2 separate regions of the Homo sapiens genome follow, and region 1 is linked to region 2. Evidence: promoter capture Hi-C in human tissues and cell types (Jung and others, 2019). All regions are on one chromosome and are shown on one strand. The core of a region is centred on a gene start or on the middle of the fragment in contact, and the rest is flanking DNA. Distances in the headings are between cores, read along the strand shown. Region 1 overlaps MIR3936HG (MIR3936 host gene). Region 2 holds the start of LEAP2 (liver enriched antimicrobial peptide 2).

The links. Contacts are between HindIII fragments. The study calls those that stand out against the background at their distance.
Region 1: a contact is called between a fragment that was not itself captured here and the fragment with the promoter of LEAP2 in region 2, in 2 of the 25 tissues and cell types used here (mesenchymal stem cells and spleen).

The regions. Positions count from the first base shown.
Region 1 is chr5:132,349,048-132,352,984 of GRCh38, forward strand. MIR3936HG (MIR3936 host gene) reads right to left here. Exons shown (of 8, transcript NR_110997.1): 5 at 768-910. Among named protein-coding and RNA genes, the nearest start is that of MIR3936, 15 kb to the right of the region's middle. The HindIII fragment of the contact is 5,583 bases long and covers 1-3,937 here.
Region 2 is chr5:132,872,397-132,876,258 of GRCh38, forward strand. LEAP2 (liver enriched antimicrobial peptide 2) reads left to right here and starts at 1,272. Exons shown (of 3, transcript NM_052971.3): 1 at 1,272-1,355; 2 at 1,554-1,693; 3 at 2,014-2,650. The coding sequence starts at 1,299. The coding sequence ends at 2,050. AFF4 (ALF transcription elongation factor 4) reads right to left here. Exons shown (of 21, transcript NM_014423.4): 21 at 2,999-3,862. The HindIII fragment of the contact is 2,304 bases long and covers 1-1,277 here.

The DNA.
Region 1 (3,937 bases), core at 781-3,280, 520 kb before region 2:
CTCCAGACCTGTTTGCCTGGGTATCACCATCAGAGGCTGCAGAACAGCAAATATTGCAGAACAGCAAATATTGCTGAGTGATCCTTCCTCTGGAAGCTTCATCCCAGAGGGGCACCTGCCTGTATGAGGTGTCAGTCGGCTACTGGGAGGTGTCTCCCAGTTAGGCTACATGGGGGTCAGGGACCCACTTGAGGAGGCAGTCTGTCTGTTCTCCAAGCTAAAACACCATCCTGGGAGAACCACTGCTCTCTTCAGAGCTGTCAGACAGGGATGTTTAAGTCTGCAGAAGTTTCTGCTGCTTTTTGTTCAGCTATGCCCTGCCCCAGAGGTGGAGACTACAGAGGCAGTCAGCCTTGCTGAGCTGTGGTGGGCTCCACCCAGTTCGAGCTTCCACAGCCACTTTATTTACCTACTCAAGCCTCAGCAATGGCGGATGCCCCTCCCCATGCCAGGTTGCTGCCTTGCAGGTCAATCTCAGACTGTTGCACTAGCAGTGAGCAAGGCTCCATGGACATAGGATCTGTCGAGCCAGGCACAGGATATAATCTCCTGGTGTGCCATTTGCTAAGACTTTGGAAAAGCGCAGTATTTGGGCAGGAGTGTCCCGTTTTTCCAGGTACCATCTGTCACGGCTTCCCTTGGCTAGGAAAAGGAAATCCCCTGACTCCTTGCGCTTCCCAGGTGAGGCGATGCCCTGCCCTGCTTCGGCTCACCCTCCGTGGGCTGCACCCACTGTCCAACCAGTCCTAGTAAGATGAACCAGGTACCTCAGTTGGAAATGCAGAAATCATCCGTCTTCTGCGTCGATCACACTGGGAGCTGCAGACCAGAGCTGTTCCTATTTGGCCATCTTGGAACGGAATCCTCAATGAGATATTTTAAGAAGTTAAAAAATATTTGTAAAGAGCATCTGAAAAAAGAAATATGTAATATGTTTAAGAAATTTTTGAAAAAGATCATTGATAAGGGGAAATGTTCTCTTACATATATAAAAACACACAATGACTACACTACTCTGGGTTTCCTGGAAAACACACAAACACACACACACACACACAGACACACACACAAAAGATAAATCAATCAACGAAATAGAAGAGGTATCACAGAAACAGACCCAAGTGTTGAAAAATTGTAACATATGATAAAGATGAATTATAAATTATCAAGAAAATGATACATTGTTGAAGACTGGTGCTGGGACAATCGACAAGCTGAAGAACTGGTAAAAATGGAAAAACTGGGGGAATAAATAGTATCCCACCATAAACCACATACCAAATTAATTCCTGATCAACTAAAGAGCCAAATGTAATAAATGTAAATAAAATAGAGCCAAGAGTAAATAAATCAAAAGCTAGAAGAAAATATAGGTGACATTTAATTTTAAGATGAATAGGAAATTGAAGATAAATAGATTTTACTATAAACTTTTAAAGAATTCTGTACAACAGAAAATCTTAAAATTAACTCAAGTTGGAAAAGTATTAACAAAAACATACTGGACAAAATTACCATCCTTTGTACATATGCATCAATTTTTGTAATGCCCACTAATACTCCAGTTAAAGCAAATAGGGCTAAGTACATAGCCTTTGGAGACAAGTGTTCCAGGACCTGATGCTGGGTGTGTCACTTCTCTATCAGCTGTGTGACTTTGAGCAAGTTACAGTCTTCCCTAAAACTCAGCTTCTTCATCTGTAAAGAGGGATGATAACAATTCCATTTGGGTGGGGATTACATGAGACAATGCATACTGTGTTTGGCTCCATACCTGGCAAAGATGTCCACGTTTTTGCTATCTCTCATCTTACTCATGTCCTCACACCCCTTCTTGGCCAGCTTAAATTCCATGCTTAATCATCATAATCATCTTCCTTGCCCCTTTCTTATCTGCCTTGCTTTTGTGGGAAACTATAAAGCTGGTTAAATCTAACCTCCCTCCTACTTCTTGCTAGCACCTGCATAGCCAAATGTAGATGGAAAATATATTCCATCTGACTGGTTTCACTTTAAACTGACCATCAGTGACTTCAAGAGGATCCTAATTGCCCTGGTTCATTCTCTATCCTGGAAGACCTTCTTTCTCTTCAGAACTCCATCACCTCCTCCCCCATGATCACCCTCAGCTGTGCCTTGGCTTCCTATTTCACCTAGAAAATAGAAGCAATGGAGAGAACCTCTACAAGCAGCATAATCCACCAGCCTAACTCCATCTGTACCCACACCCTCTGTCTTTTCTCCCGTTTCTCCTGAATGGTCTCTCCTCCCCGCTGGAGTGCAGTGGCTCACTGCAACCTCTGCCTCCCAGGTTCAAACGATTCTCATGCCTCAGCCTCCGAAGTAGCTAGGATTACAGGCATGCACCACCATACCCAGCTAATTTTTGTATTTTTAGTAGAGACAGGGTTTTGCCATGTTGGCTAGGCTAGTACTGAACTCCTGGGCTCAAGTGATTGGCCTGCCTCAGCCTCCCAAAGTGCTGGGATTATAGGTGTGAGCCACTGTGCCCGGCCCCAGCCTTATATACTTCTTACCCCTCCCCCACCCCCTACTCCCTTACCAACAGCAGAAAAGTAACATGATGTAATTGAGATAGCCCTGACTACTATGCTGAGAGTAGATTGAAGGGGCGTAGGAGCAGCCTTAATGAAGAAGGATTGGCTGGGGGCTAACAGAATACAGGCAAGAAACTGGATTCTACATATGTTGAAATTATGGCAAAAGACTTTATTGACAGATTGGATGTGGAGTACGAGAGGAAGAGCAGCCAGGAAAATAAAGTTTCCATTTACTGAGTTGGGGAGGACTTCAGGAAGAGCAGATTTGGGATGAAATTAGGAGCACATGTTGCTCTAGCAATTCTCCTGACTCCCCCATCATAAATCTTTTCCCTCTCTACTGGATCTTTCCCATTCAGTATGCAAAGAGGCTGTAAAAGCTCTCTCTTGACCCAGTTTCTGCTGTCAGCTCCTGCCCCATTTCTCCCTGTCCCTTAGCAGTGAAACTCCTTGGAAGATTGCTATATCTACTTGCTACTTTCAACTTTGTTCTTCCAATTTTCACTTGGCCCCACTACAATTAAGCTTTAGCCCTCACCTTTCACCAGAGCACCTCTATCAAGGTCCGCAGTGACCTGCATGTTTCTGAATTCAATAGTCAATTCACAGTCATCATCTTACCTGACCTCTCAAGGCATTTGACAAACTCATTTCTCTTTCATCCTTGAACTGCTTTCTACATGACACTTGCGCCAGGCGTGGTGGCACACACCTGCAGTCCCAGCTACTTGGGAAGCTGAGGCAAGAAAAACACTTGGACCCAGAAGGCAGAGGTTATAGTGAGCCGAGATTGTGTCATTGCACTCCAGCCTGAGTGACAGAGTGAGACTCTGTATCAAAAAAATCAACAAAAATGACACTTGCTTGGTTTTCCTCTTACCTTGTTGGCTGCTCCTTTACCATCTAGTGTGCTGGTTTTTCTTCATCTCCGCTACTGCCCAAAATTGGAGTGCCCAGAACTTAGTCTTCAGTCCTCTTCCTTTTTAAAAAATCCAGTCTCATGATTTAAATATCATCTCTGCACTGATGACCACCAACACATAGAGAGAGTGAACTCCAGGCTCACATAATAACTGCCCACTTGATATCCTCACTTGGATATATAATAGGTGTCTCAAACATAACATGTCAAATTTAACATGTGCTCCTAATTTCATCCCAAATCTGCTCTTCCTGAAGTCCTCCCCAACTCAGTAAATGGAAACTTTATTTTCCTGGCTGCTCTTCCTCTTGTACTCCACATCCAATCTGTCAATAAAATCTTTTGCCATAATTTCAACATATGCAGAATCCAGTTTCTTCCCTGCATTCTGTTAGCCCCCAGCCAATCCTTCTTCATTAAGGCTGCTCCTACGCCCCTTCAATCTACTCTCAGC
Region 2 (3,862 bases), core at 22-2,521:
GCTTCTCCCTTGGCAAGAAGCTCCCTCTGTCTGACTGGCAGCAGGGTCAGTGGCCATCCTTTTCTACCTTCAGCTGTTGTGCATCTCCTCCACGTTTTCCTGGAGTAAAGGAACAAGCAGGTTCTTATCCAAATACCCAACCTGTGAAGATGAGACGGCCCTTGGGAAGAGGTATTAGCCAAGTTTTCAGTATGATGCCCGGCAGAAAGAATTTGTTGTCTTTGTCTTAAGCTTATTATCCTCCCAGGTCATAGGAAGATCTAAAGTCCAATCAGTCTCCTTACTCAGAATTCACAGCTTTCCCCTCAAACTTAAAATGCCCATGTCATTTCACGAGTACCCATAACTACCCATCGTTTAGATACATGTCCTCCCTTGGTCTAGAAATCTGCAGCAGTTCCTACTTAAACTGATGGATGCTTTGGGCTTTGGAGGTATCTCATCCCTATGCCTGTTGCCCTGAAGCTGCCGGAAGGAAAGGCCCCACTCAACTACTGGGAAGAAAGCCCATAATTCAAGGCTTTTAATACAGTCACTACACAAGCTCTCCCTCTGATTTAGGAGATCTTGTTACCTCCTCATCTACATGTGCTTAAAAACAAAAAGAAACCTATAATTATTCAATTCACCTGTGGTCCAAATAAGTCTCACATCCAGCCATTCCCCTGAGAGGGCAGGAGGCCAGACTTTGAACTTTCCACAGCTGGGTCTTCATTTTACTAGTGAGATAAAGAGGTGCAGATTAGGGTGACAGTCCATCTAAGCAAGTGGACGATCTGGGGAACTGTAGGCCTTGCTGAAGCATCCTCCCACAGAAAGGAGATAAGGGCCTTATCCAATTGGCTGTACACAATAGATCAGTGCTTCTTTCCTAGACAAGGCTGAAAGGGGCCAACATTATTTCTGAAGACTTCATTATTGGAATTCTATGGGAGTGATCTCACTGAGCTATTTTGGAATAGAAATGTGGCTAGTTGCCTGACCTCCCTCAATGGTTTCACGTGGCTTTCAAAGGGAAGGAAGGGCAGTGCTGACTTTTGGTAAAATGGGCGAAAGGGTCCATGCCAGCAACACAATCACTCAAAGTCCAGATGAGGGATCAGTAAATACAACGTGCCTGAAAGGTGGCCCTTGAGCACATTCCTCCGGTAGACATTAACTTATTAAATTGATTCTGATTACAAATATAAACTTTGCCCCCATCTCACCCAGTAACAATGCAAGAGTTGATGTCAGTCTATAAAAGGAAGTAGGAACTGTCCCTGGCTTTCAGGCTCCAACATCCTCCCCCTGTCAAGATGTGGCACCTCAAACTTTGTGCAGTCCTCATGATCTTCCTGTTGCTGTTGGGCCAGGTAAGGAGGGAAGGATACTTATGTGTGTGTGTGGAGTGTGGAGATGATAGTGGTGGTGGAACTTGAAAGCTAGATTCAGTCCTGAGGAATGGTTCCTCTGTTCTGAGTCTACAGCATCTGCGGAATGGAATGATCACTCTTCCAAGGTGTGCAGCAGGGTGTCAACACTTTCATATCTGAATGTCTTTGCCCTTACAGATAGATGGCTCCCCAATACCAGAAGTGAGTTCGGCAAAGAGAAGGCCACGGAGAATGACCCCATTTTGGAGAGGGGTTTCCCTCAGGCCTATTGGAGCCTCCTGCCGGGATGATTCTGAGTGTATCACAAGGCTATGCAGGTACTCCCTGAACCTGGGAGCAGGGTTGGGCCAGAGAGCCCTGGGAAGCTGGGCAGAGGAGTGACAAGGGGACACATGAACCTAAGAATAAAGCTGGGATGGAGGAGTTCTAGACTGAGACTGGGAGCTCCATGGAAAATCCCTTAGGAGTTAGGAGCCAAGAACAGCTCTATGTGGGTACCATGAAAGAGTGGTGCCTTTCCATTCTTCAGTCTTTCCTGAGACTGGACAGATCAAGCAAAGAGGAAGGAAATGCAGCATAGGTGGCCCTGGTCATTCCTAGACCCAGTCTTAAAAAACTACCCTTTCTTTTCCCCTAGAAAAAGACGCTGTTCCTTAAGTGTGGCCCAGGAATGATGTACATACCAGGGAAAGAAAGGACAGCAGTCACCTCCGACAATGCTCCGTTCTATGGAATATTGATTAACTGCATTTTGGCTGGAGACACCCAAGTGAAGCAATCTTGTATTTTTAATATTTAAAGGCAGATGTACGCTTTAAATTGGTCTCCATTTCTTCTTAGAATGTTGATATATGGATAAGCATAACTAAACTTGTCAATTTAGAGTTTATTTTTCTATGGATACTATTAAATGTCTCAAATTGAAATTTTAGCAGTCTGGAATTCAAGCTTTTGAGGGAAAGAAGGATTCATTTTGTATACTAAAGAAAAAAACAGCATTGCCCAATAATGTGTTAACTTCTCAATCTGGAAAGTGTAGTGAGAGCTACATAATCAATAGCTACGTAATCAACTTCAGCAAGTTCCTAAGCTGTGGCCCTGGATCCCTTCACTCCATACTCTTCAGGGAGGTGTCAAAGGTGGTCAAGCTTGGGAGGCTGAGGCAGGAGAATCACTTGAACCTGGGAGGTGGAGGTTGCAGTGAGCCAAGATCATGCCACTGCACCCCAGCCTGGGTGACATAGAGAGACTCTGTCTCAAAAAAAAAAAAAAAAAAAAAAGATGGTCAAGCACTTGCCATCTAATGAAGCACCCAGGTTTGTCTATGGCTGTCTGAAGATAAGGCAGAACAGAGAGAAAAATCTAGTTTAATAAAGCAATGAAAGCCCAAGCCACCAAAAGCACCAAAAGAGATTTAAGATTTCTGTTGGGACAAGGTGAATTTTGACATATGCACAAGGACCCATGGCCAGCAAGTTCAGAATTTCTGTAATCAGAAAATGAGACCTCAGCTGGTGGGAACAGACTTTTAAAGAGTAGTAACGGACCTTAAGACACAAAACAGGAATTGCATGAAAAGGGCTCAGAGTTGAAGAAATATAAAGAGTACAGTGTTCAGTAACTTTAATACAGAAAATCTATTTGATATTTATTAAACTTAGTTTCTCCAACTATGGTTTGGCATTGTACAAAGCATCTTAATGACACAGTAGAGTTAAAAAGATCTTTACAAATTGAAATGTGATACCCTTGTCTCCAAATATTTTAATTGCCATAAATTTGTTTAAAAATACACATTAAACGCATGTTTGACACTCTAAACTTTCTATACTCTCAATACCACAAAATACATATAATATACTATACAGATGTGGAAAAATCTAGTTAGTATATAATACTTTGCTCACCATTAACAGCTTTATCGTGTGAAATGCACATACTGACTTAGAAATCCTAGCTTTTGAGCCCCAAAGTACCTCTGAAATTGTAATGTATTGCAACAAATAAAAATCACAGTATATAATTGAAATTCTGGTTGAAAATGTCAGATGCCTAAATATTTTGGATAAAAGAAATGTAAAACAAAGATTTGGTTCATGTACAAAACAAAGGCATCCTTATCAGTCACTAACAGTACCTTTCTGCAAAATCAACAGGCTTTTAATTTATCAGTGACATTATCTCCCCTCCAAAACCCTCCCCAAATATCAAACAATTATATACCAAATAATTTTAATTTCAAATAAAAGGATTTTCAATAAATATATAAGCATTTCCATCCTCCATATACAAAATTTCTTAAAACCATTCAAAACGGAGGCTAGATAGAAATTTTCATAACTGTGCTTACCAACCCCACAACTGGCCCTTAAAGGTGGTGCCTTTTCAGGCAATGTCAACTGGCCAGTTCTGTTGGTGAGCCCCCTACCCCCACCCCACCCATCCCAGTACTGTTGAATGCTCATGTTAATGATTTGCCAGGTGTG